Linked DNA regions of Homo sapiens: all the other regions are linked to region 3. Evidence: promoter capture Hi-C in 16 types of primary human blood cells and fetal thymus (Javierre and others, 2016). All regions are on one chromosome and are shown on one strand. Each heading gives the region's core, a stretch centred on a gene start or on the middle of the fragment in contact. The rest is flanking DNA. Distances are from core to core; before and after follow the strand shown.

Region 1 (3,740 bases), core at 371-2,870, 570 kb after region 3:
AAATAACAACATATTGTAGGAAAATAAATCAGAGATTTTCCTAGTAAACTAGTGCATGCGGACAACTCAAACTACCGCAAGGTGGCAGCACATCCCCATGATAGCACCATCAATACTTGGCCTAGTCAGTGGTGAAAAGTCATGATGGGCTTCTGAGAGGATGTTCCTATTAAATCCTAAGTATTCGATCTACAAAGAACTAGGATCTTTTGATCAATTGAGCCCACATTTTCCTTCAGAGTCCAAAGAGGAAACTGAATTTCTGAAAATGTAGGCGACTTATCAAAGGTCAAAAATAGTTCATGACAGAACCAGGATTAGAACCTGATCTTTTAGTTTCCAGGGCAGCTCCTTCACAGTATTATAAACATTCACTGTGGCCTTTCTCTATCCCAGATCCTCTAGGGACTGTTATTTCTAAGAGAAATGATACGGTGGAATAACAAAATATGTAAACTAAGTAGTGAGCAAAATTTTTGCTTAGGTCCTCCTGATAGAGGCAGGAGGCAGAGAAATTCTAGGCAGACGGGGCGGGTCCCCGGTGAAAACCCACCTTCATGCCAAAGTGGCCTGAGACCTGCAGCCCAAAGTGAGAACTTCCATTCCTCTTTGCCCACTCTCTCCCAATTGGCTCTTTCTGAGTAATGTCTTTTTACCAGTCAAACATGGCCTTTTCCAAAACTACCTATGGCCTGCCCCCACTCCCATCCTGTGCTTATAAAGACCCCAGACTCAGTCAGTAGAGAAGAGAGGCAGCTTGACTTCACTGAGGTGGCTTGACTTCAGGGAATAGCTGGCTGGACTTCGTGAAAGAGCCAGCCGGACTTTGGGGGAAAGACTACCTGCTTGTCCCATCCCCTGTCCAGCTCCCCTGTCCACTGAGAACAATTTCCATCACTTAATAAAATTCTCCGCCTTCACCATCCTTCAAGGCTAACCTCATTCTTCTTGTCCAGCATCCAAGAGCTCAGAACCCACTGAGTGCAGGTACCCAAAAAAGGCTGCCACATTGGCTCTTTGCCCTTGCCAGCAGAGGGCAGCCACCCCACACAATGAGGCAACGGGCCAACCGAGCTGCTAAGACACTGCTGTCTGCAGATGGCAGAGCTATGAGAGCACTGCAAACATGCCCTCTGGGGTTTTGGGGTGGCAGGCACCCCCACCTGGGCACCACTGCAGGCTCCACACTGAGCTTGCTCCTGCTGGTGCCCAAAGCAGCTGGCTGGATCCCACTCACTTACTCACATGCTCTCTCTCACAAAGGGTTGAGTGTGGTGGGCCAAGTAAACAGGGCACCCCTGTCATTAGTCTGACAAAGGGGCTGAGAAAAATCCTGCATCACTCCAGACCTTTTTCTAGTTCCAGCTCTCCCTGACCTAACACTCTCCTTTCAGTATCTTCCCATTTCCTACCCCCTTTCCCACAACAAAATAGGAGATATTCTGATATCAAGAGCCTTATTCGTATTTTGGCTGAACTTCATTTGTTTATTTTGATGATAAAAGGAATGGATATCTCTCACGTTTAAGTAATATTGGGCTATAGAAGTAGATAAACCTTTTACTTGACCTTAAAGTCAGATTCTCATTAAAGCTGAACCCAGTCAGGTAACTAAATATTCTGGTTTTCCTGGGCCTGAGAGGTTTCTCAGTTCTAAAACAGGGAAAGTTCTGAGGTGGGCAACCAGGATGGTTGGTCACCCTAGCTCATTTATGTGAAACTGGGGTTTGTGGTGTGATGTACAACATGATGGACCAGACAAAACAAAATGCATCTGACCATCCCTTTTTGTACCTCTTGCCATCTCTCACTTCACTTCAGCCAACATATATAGGACTACTAAATGTAAGGCTCTGCTATGGTTTGAATGTTTTTGTCTACTCCAAACTCATGTGTTGGAAACTTAATCATCAATGTAACAGTGTTGGGAGGTGGCACCAAATGGGAGGTGTTTAGGTCATGAGGGCTCAGTCCTAATGAATGAATTAATGTTGCAATAAAGGAGCTTTTGGAAGTGGGTTCCCCTTCTGCTCTTCTGCCATGTGAGGAACAGTGTTCCTCCCCTCTGGAGGATGCAGCATTCAAGGCACCATCTTGGAAGCAGACACCAAGCCTGCCAGTGTCTTGACCTTGGACATCCCAGTCTCCAGAACTGTAAGAAATAAATTTCTCTTCTTAATAAGTTTCCCCAGAATACACTATAATGTATTCTGTTACAGCAACAAAAAACTAATCAAGACACACACTGTGCTAGGCCACAGGAATTCAAGGATGAAATATAGTATCCCTACTCTGAGTAGGGTAGCAAATTTTTGCACAAATATGATTCCTGGACAAAATTTTTACTAAATCTGCTTTAGGAAAATTCTCATATCAACCTGGCTTATTTTACAAATACAGTAAATCAAATATGTATATACCCTTTTGTGCCTATTTCTAACAAAACATAGTCATTTTTTTCAAAACTGTAGATAGCTTGTGATAATAGCTAACTTCTGCCAACTCCTTACCAATTTTCTGGAATTCTGCTCTCTGTCTGACTCTAATAACTCTTTGAGGGAAAATCTGTTATTGTCCTCAGGCTTCAAACCAGTAAATTGAGGACTAAATAAGAAAAGTACAATTAATCAAGGACAACATCATACAAATAACAGTGGGAAAAGTAGGTTTCAAGCCCAAATCTGTTGACTCTAAAGCCTATGCCCTCACCCACTCCACTGTACCACTTCTCATCTAGAGGGGATCTTGTTCTGTCAAAAACTTTCTGCATTAATGAAAATGTCTTATATCTGCTCTTTCCAGTATAGAGTAGCCCCTAGCCACACATGACCATTGAACATATGAAATATTGACTTATGTGACTGAGGGACTGAATTTTTAACTTTATTTCATTTTAATTAATTTAAATAGTCACATAGGACTAATGGCTACTGTATTGGACAGCACAGGCCTGGGTTTGTATTATGTCATGTGAATGTAACAGAGTAGATCAATGTAGTGTAACGTAAAAAGAGTGGACATTAGAATCAGACTGTTCAGCCTGCTATTCGTGCCCACACCACTCAACCACCGTGTGAATTAGAGTAACATTTTTTTCTTTAAATCTCTCTGAGACTCAGTTGCCTCATCTATAAAATGAGAATAATTATAATACTACTAGATAGTTGCTGTAAGTTTTAAAGAGATATATACAGTATTTGGCACTAATAATCAATAAACATGTTTCATTTGCCCCTTAAAGATTTAAATGGTTGAGAAGGAAATTGCATGAGCTTTATTTGTCTAATATTTCTTCAAATATTTGACAATCTAAGTCAGAAAATTCTTCTGTATCTCTCTCATTTTGATATAAGTTGGTTTCTTTCATTATATTTTCTCTCTAGAATTGTTGTTGGGATTAAAGTCAGAATGATAAACGTAAAATAGCCCACAGTTATCTCAGTCACCAGCACGTAATTAAGCTCAGTAAGTATTTTTCCTCTCCAGTCCTTCAGCTAGGACTCAGAAAAATTTGTTTTTGAAAAAAAATCCACAAACATCCTGGATGCAGTGGTCAGGGGGAACTTACCGCTACTTCTTCGACGTCAAAGGATAACTGAATTCTCACTTTTGGCTCAGGCATGTGCAAGAAACAGGCACTATACCATCATTTCATGGGTGAGTCTATATTACGATGGTTGAAGACAGTGTAATCTAATGGACGGTGCCAGGAGGGTCATGAGAAGAAGCCAGGCTCTAGT
Region 2 (4,069 bases), core at 418-2,917, 910 kb after region 3:
CAAATGGGTTTCGTAATTCAGAAGATTTGCTGCCATCTAGGGGACATAAATTCTTTGTCATGGAGGCCGTGGATATATTCTCAGGGGGCACTGCCTAGGAAAGCCTGGAGCTGTTGGAGTTACTTATATAGCCTGGAAAGGAAGAAGCATCATATGGCACAGGAAGTCAAGCACTGCCTGGTTTATCTAACGGGTTTCTCTTGCTTGTCAGCTCTTATACAATTGACCTGTATGCATCCGGACTTTAAATTAGGTCCAAGTGTTTTCTGCAAATCCTGCAGAGACACAGAAGTCAGATTAGGCAGTTGGTTAGCTAAAGGATTTTCTGGAGACATTAGGGGTGTAATTGTTTTAGGGGTTATTACAGAAGTTTGCTGTGGGGTTAAGACTGGATTTTGAGGAGGGGGATTTTGACCAGGGGCCCAGATGATCAAAGAATCTTCTCGGGGGGTCTGGGACATGTAGTTGAGGATAAAGAAGAGTATAAGTTGTAGGGAAATTTAAATTGGGGGCAGATTTTAACTTTTGTTCTAGATTAGATTTCTGTTTTTTAATCTTGTCAGGAGAGTTCTTAAAGCAAGCCACAACACTAGTGCATGTCTTTCTTTCAATTTGATCTTCTCATAAATACAAATAAGGCAAATGCTTAGAATGAGAGCTCTTTAAAATTTTCCTTAAATTTAAGCCTTTCTCATTCAAAAGATCCTCTGCTGGCCACTTATAATTAGAATTTTCAATGGTTTATTTATTCCAATAATGACTTAATCCAATAAGCCTCTTCATAGTAAGCCAAGGTGGTAATTTCCCAGGTTGAGAATAGGTTGTCACTGTATAAGCAAGATGTGTTTCTGGAGAGGGCACAGAAGAGGCAGTCCCCATAATGCCCAAAAATTCACTCTCAGAAATAGGCTGAAAGTAACAAAAGACAACAAAAGTCCCATAAAAATGGGACCTTTTATGGCAAATCTCCCCTAAAAGCTTGGCACATTTGGTATAAATAATGTGCTGCTTAAAATCGTACATGTCTCAGACTCCCAGTCTTTTCAGATTGGTCACCTAACATGAACCCAAAAATTCATACCCTCCTGATGGCAGAGACTAAGAGAGTACCCACACTTAGTCACAAAGACAAGCTCCCAAGGTTATAAACCAAAAAAAAAAAAATCCAGTTTTTGTTTCAGGGACTAAAAGCAGTTTATCTTTACAGATGCTCATCTAGTCAGCTCAGCAAAAAACTAACCAGTCTGCAGGGCCAGCCTGAACAGTGGGCTTATAGGGGATCTAGGCTCATGTTCTACCCTGTGGTACCCCTCTTTATAAAAGAATAACACAGAAAGACAAAGGAAAATGGAACAACAACAACAAAAGGCTATTTCTGAGAGAAAAAGAGTGCAAACTGTCAAAGGCATTTGAACCACAGTGCCTCCATCTTGAATAGGGACGGGGTAAAATAAGGCTGAGACATACTGGGCTGCATTGCCAGGAGGTTAAGGCATTCTTAGTCACAGGATGAGATGGGAGGTCGGCACATGATACAGGTCATAAAGACCTTGCTGATACAACAGGTTGCAGTAAAGAAGCCAGCCAAAACCTCCCAAAACCAAGATGGCAATGACAGTGACCTCTGCTGGTCCTCATTGCTCATTACACACTAATTATAATGCATTAGCATGCTAAGGCACACTCCCAACAGCACTGTGACAGTTTACAAATGTCATGGCAATGTCAGGAAGTTACCCTAAATGTTCTAAAAAAAAAAAAAAAAAAAAAAGGGAGGAACCCTCAGTTCTAGGAATTGCCCACCCCTCTCCCGGAAAACTCATGAATAATCCATACCTTCTTTAGCATATAATCAAGAAATAACCATAAAAATGGGCTGCTCTGCATATAGAGTAGCCATTCTCTTATTCCTTTACTTTCTTAGTAAACTTGCTTTCGTTTACGCTATGGACTTGCCCCAGATTCTTTCTTGCACAAGATCCAAGAACCCTCTTTTGGGGTCTGGATTGGGACCCCTTTCCAGTAATAAAACAATATAAATATTCACACCCCAAATTAAATACACCAGAGTTGCTAAAACCCAACTAGTCCCATATAAAACGTTTTCTCTCACTAATCTTAAATTTGGAAAGGAAAAGAGAGAGAGTGATTTTTTTTTTTTTTTTTTTACCATTCACTCGACCAGAGAGTTCATGGAAAGAAAGAAACTGGGAGGCTGACCAGTAAGGAATTCTTACCATTTCTTTGCCAACTTTGTTGGGTCCTGGATTCCCTTCACTATGGTCTCCAGAAGTGCACAATGGCTTTGATGATTCTGCCAACTATGCCAAAACCGTAGGGGCCATGGGGAAGCTTCCCCCTTGCCCTAGAAATGTTCACAGAAAAAAAAATCAGCAAACCCTTTTCAGTGAAAAAATCAGTGAACCATTATTGACTATGCCAAAACTGTAGAGGCCATGGAGAAGCTTCCCCCTTGCCCTAGAAAGGTTCACTGAAAAAAAAAAAATCAGCAAATTCTTTTCAATGAAAAAATTAGCGAACCATTATTGCCTCACAATAAGGCTGACTAATAAGAGAAAAGGCGTACAAATTTATTTAACCGTGTGCATGGGGAGAATCACAGAGATTACCCAATTTCCCAGTGGGGCCCAAACACTTATATAATCTTCTTTCAGAGGGGAGGGGGAAGATAGGGAATATAGTAACTGTGGAGAGACAGTAAATGATTACCAAAGGAAAAAGAATGGGTACTTGGGAGAATGAATGAAAGGGGGAACAGAGATGGACTTTCAAATGGTTCTCTTTGGAAGTTGAACGAACTGAGAGACAGGAATTATTTTGCAAAATGGTTGGGCCAGGTCTGGTTACATTCTTTCCTTTCCTGAAATATTAATAGATAATGAGATAACAATGAAGGAAAGGAAAAGCAATTGTTCTTGATGGATCCATCTGATCTTTATGGAGATAGGAGAAAAGTCTCTTCTAGGGCCCATTGATTCCTAAAGGTTTTTAATTCAAAATATGCATTATACTGGGGTGCTCCTTCATTTGATTTCAGAGCGATTTCAGGGTTTCACACAGCTATAGCAAAGTTGGCTATAGAAATATTTATAAACTGTAAAGGTATTAAGCAAACTCACACAATTGTAACATCATGTTTGGTTCATGCTCTTCAGTTGTTTATTCAGAAAGTAGTAAAGCATAGTGTAATTAACAAAATTACTGTCTGGAAACAGAAAAATAATGAGCCACTGTCACCACATTTTCTGTCTGTCACAAGAATTATTTTGGAAGCTCTCTGTCATGTAATAATGTTCAAACAAAATGGAATCACAGCTATTATTTTTTAAAAGAGCAAGGACTGACTCTGAGGAGGGAGATGGAAATGGTAAAAGGCAGAGGAAGAGTGAATGACGAGCAGAATATTGGATATGTGTATTATGAAATGCCTTACAAATGTAGGGCCAAAAACATGGTAAAGACCTAGATAAATTTATGTGAACCTCAAGAACTCCACTTACTGGTTGTGGCTGTTTTATGAGCAACAAATGGCATGCCTGCTCACCCTTCCACAGGGCAGTCTGTCAACTAACAGCAGAAACTAGCCTTACCAAGCTGTCAGAGCACCCCTATCAGATGAATGGACTACACTAAATCCTGAGGCAGGACTCCAGAATCAGGCAGGTCTGACTGTCCTCACCTCTCACACCAGATTGGGTTGGATGGTAGAGCTGTCATCCCAATGAAGACAGCTGGATAGAGCAAGAGGTGTTAGAGCTCTGGAGATGCCTTCTCACCATTGTATCTCAGAGCACAGAACAGGGCTCTGTCAGTTTCAGAAAGGATTATAAGATGAAGGAGAAGGAGGAGGAGGAGGAGGAGAAGAAGAAGAGGAAGAAGAGGAGGAGGAAAGGAGGAGTGGGAGAAGGAGAGGGAGGGGAAGGAGAGAAGAAGAAGGAGGAGGCGGCGGAGGAGGAGGAAGAGAAGAAGAAGGCAGCGACTGAGGAGGAGGAGGGGAGGAGGAGTGTGAGAAGGAGGGGGAGGGGAAGAGGGGGAGGAGAGAAGAAGA
Region 3 (3,632 bases), core at 497-2,996:
CACCTCAGCACAGAGGGATGGGAGTGTTTTCCTTCCACCTTGTCTTGCTTCTGGCTCCCTGGTTAGCTCCAGCTCTGGATCCTGCCTCTCAAGCTGGTGGGTCTTCTGGAATCCCTGACCAGCTCTTTCCCAAAAGCACCCACAGTAGGACACCCCAGTGTGTTTCTGGGAGACATGTATAGGCTGTCCTGGGAGATAACTTTTCCTGATGTTTAACTTGGTCCTTTTTGATACCATCTGACCATCTTCCCTTTTGTGCTGGTATCTTGGGAAGGAGAGAGCCTTATGACTGGAACCCTCAGATGCCCCTCTTCCTGAAGGCCAAGGGGAGAACAGATGTTCCACTGAGTAGAGGAAAGCTCAGACACAGGTGGTGGAAGAAAATGTAACAGAGGGGCTAGGTAAACTCCTCCACAGGCTTTGGGTGGGCCACTTAGTTGGATGTCAAGTTCACAGACACCTGCTTTCATGACTGACATGGACCTCTGGCTACCGGTGCAGCCATGGCAATCACTGTGCTCAGGGATCCAGAACAATCTAGAAGATGCTAAATAAATGTCCTTTCCCTAGGGCAGCAATCACTTTCATTCTACCTTGACCTAATAACCCATGCTCTGATAGTGAGTGTGGACTCTGGGATAAGAGGCAATATGTAGATTTATCTCTGTTTTAATTTCAGCACTTTCTTCCAGGAAGCCTTTTCCTTTGAGGTGCTGCATGATTTCTGTGAGAGTGGGGTTTAAATCCAGTCCCTGAAGAGTGGGAGGATGAGCACTGAGTGAGTGAGCAGACATCCGAGTCCCTTCAGGGTGAGGGGCGCTGCCTCTTCACCAAGTGTCGCAGGGCCCTCCTCACGTCCTTGTTCCGAAGGGTGTAGATGATGGGGTTGAGCATGGGTGTGATGACTGTGTAGAAGAGACTGAGGACGCGGTCTGTGGTAACAGAGGAGCCTGCCTGCGGCCGGATGTAGGTGATGCTGGCTGTTCCAAAGAAGAGAGAGACCACGAGCAGATGGGAGGAGCAGGTGGAGAAGACCTTGCGGCGGCTCTGGGTGGAGGCCATTGCTAGGATGGCACCCAGGATGCGGATGTAAGAGGTGACAATCAGAGAGAAGGGGATCATAATGAAGACTATGGTGGCTGTCATCACGGAGATCTCGCTCCTGTGCTTCCCAGCACTTGCCAGCCTCAGTACTGGCAGGATGTCACAGAGAAAGTGCGGGATGATCGGGTGGCTGCGAAAAGGTAGAGAGAAGATGAGGGAGGCATGGGTGGTGGCCGTGATGATGCCTGTGAGCCAGGAGGTACCCACCATGGCCATGCAGGCCCGTGGGCTCAAGAGGGTGGAATAGCGTAGGGGCTGGCAGATGGCAACATATCGGTCATAGGCCATGGCCGTGAGCAGGCAGCACTCCGAGATGCCCAGGACAATGAAGACGTACATCTGGGCTGCACAGCCCTGGAAAGAGATGGCCTGGGGATGCGGGGAGCCCAGATTGGCCAGGGTCCTGGGCACGATGTCAGTGGTGTAGAAGAGCTCCACCACTGAGAGTTGGCGCAGGAAGAAGTACATGGGGGAGTGCAGGGCAGGGCTGACCTGTGTGAGGAGGATGATCAGGGAGTTACCCAGCAAGGTGACCAGGTAGACCAGAAGCACCACCCAGAACAGGGGGCCCTGCAGGGCCTTGAGGTCAGAGAATCCCAGAAGGAGGAATTCAGGCAGTGTAGTATGGTTTTCCCCAGCCATCACTCCAGGCCAGAAGCTGAGGCACAGCCAAGAAGAGAAGTTATTTAGAAATAACAAGCAACATTTCTGTAATTTGGTAAAGCACTTGCCACACAGTTCCTCTCAAAATCAAGTGAGAGAATTAATACCTTTCTCTGAATGAGCCATGGGTCTCAGAGAGATTAAATAATGTGTCTGAGGTAATATCTAGAAAGTGGCAGGCCTGGAACTTGAATCCAGGTCTCTTGACTCCAAATTCGACGCCTTTCTCACTGTTTCCTGGGCTCTCGTCCTGTGTCTGGGGCCTGACTCTCATATGTAAAGACTCTAGCTCTGATCTTTGGATCTCTCTCCAGAGTGAGGGGTGAAGCAGCTGCTATGACCTAGGCCCCTTTGTACTCTCTAGATGGATGCTGAGGCACAAAAGAAACTGGGTAGCACCAGGGACTGTCCCGAACTGGTGTCTAATGTTCACCATAGTGAGCTGTGGGTTAAGAGTGTCACACAGTGATATGACTATTTGTGATAATACTGCCCAATGGTATCATTGGGATTCTGACACCTTCCCTGATTTCTCTGTTCTCCTCTTATCTGGGGCCCTGTGATCAGCTACACTAGCTGTTCTGTCCCAGCACACCCTGTTCTGTCAGGCCTCCATGCATTGCCATAGTGTCTCCTTTCAGAGGATATTTCTATTCTTCATATTAAAATCCCATCACACTTCAAGCCTTCACTCAAGTTTCGCTATCTCGGTGGCAGCTTTCTGTGATCCTCAGGCTCAGAAATAATTATCCATGGCATTTCAAGATTAAAAGTGACATTTAGGAACATATATTTCCATATGACAGTACTTGGATCTTATCTTCAACATTTTAGAAGGGTGCTGTGCAGAGTCTGTTTGAACATCTGCAGTGATGGGGAACTCACCACCTATTGAGGTAGCCCTTTCTAGCTATGGCCTCTTCTGCCTGTAGGAAAAGACTTTACTGTATTGGTCTTGGCTAAATGCTTAGTATTTCATACAATATTTAACTCCTCTTGCACCAGAGAGCCCTTGAGTATTTGAGGAAGGCACTTTTATCTCTGCTTTCATGAGATGTTGCTTGTCCTTTTGTCCTAGCACTTATTACTCCACTGTGAGATCCTGCAGGACGTGGTGGGGAGGTGGGGAGGCAGTTACCTATTTTAGCAGCTGCTAATGTTTCCCAAGTGCTTGGTTCCTGCCAGGCACCATGCTAAGGGCTAAACATTCATTAAATCATTGGATCTTCCTAATTACACTACGACATAGAAACCTTCATTTTCTCCATTTTACAGATAAGGAGAGGGAAGCCCAGACAGTGTTAAGTAACTTTCTCAATGTCACACATTTTGTAAGTGACAGAGTTTGGGTTCAAATCCAGGTCTGCCTAACCCCAGAGCCTGTGATCTTAACCACCAAGTTATCAACTGCCTTGGAGGTTAATCACCAGTCAAAAAAAAAAAAAAAAAAAAAAAAAGAAAAAAAAAAAAACCAAGGCCAGGCGCAGTGGCTCACGCCTGTAATCCCAGCACTTTGGGAGGCTGAGGTGGGTGGATCACGAGGTCAGGAGATCGAGACCATCTTGGCTAACGCGGTGAAACCCCGTCTCTACTAAAAATACAAAAAATAAGCTGGGCGTGGTGGTGGGCGCCTGTAGTCCCAGCTACTCAGGAGGCTGAGGCAGTAGAATGACGTGAACTCAGAAGGTGGAGCTTGCAGTGAGCCGAGATCGTGCCACTGCACTCCAGCCTGGGCGACAGAGTGAGACTCTGCCTCAAAAAAAAAAAAAAAAAAAAAAAAGAGGTTAATCACCAGAAAAACAAGCTCAGTACTTGGACCATGTCGAGTGTTCGCTAAACATTTATTAGATGAGTGAACGAATCTC

What was found. Contacts are between HindIII fragments. The CHiCAGO score rates a contact against its expected background, and 5 or more counts as called.
Region 1: a contact is called between a fragment that was not itself captured here and the fragment with the promoter of OR10P1 in region 3, in 1 of 17 cell types (neutrophils). The highest score is 5.4, in neutrophils.
Region 2: a contact is called between a fragment that was not itself captured here and the fragment with the promoter of OR10P1 in region 3, in 1 of 17 cell types (M0 macrophages). The highest score is 5.7, in M0 macrophages.

Annotation. Positions count from the first base shown.
Region 1 is chr12:55,069,591-55,073,330 of GRCh38, reverse strand. No RefSeq gene overlaps it. Among named protein-coding and RNA genes, the nearest start is that of NEUROD4, 51 kb to the right of the region's middle. The HindIII fragment of the contact is 7,255 bases long and covers 1-3,740 here.
Region 2 is chr12:54,721,388-54,725,456 of GRCh38, reverse strand. No RefSeq gene overlaps it. Among named protein-coding and RNA genes, the nearest start is that of DCD, 75 kb to the right of the region's middle. The HindIII fragment of the contact is 1,374 bases long and covers 981-2,354 here.
Region 3 is chr12:55,635,006-55,638,637 of GRCh38, reverse strand. It overlaps OR10P1 (olfactory receptor family 10 subfamily P member 1), which reads right to left and starts at 1,746. Exons shown (of 1, transcript NM_206899.1): 1 at 805-1,746. The coding sequence starts at 1,746. The coding sequence ends at 805. RefSeq lists an enhancer at 1,408-1,909. The HindIII fragment of the contact is 13,599 bases long and covers 1-3,632 here.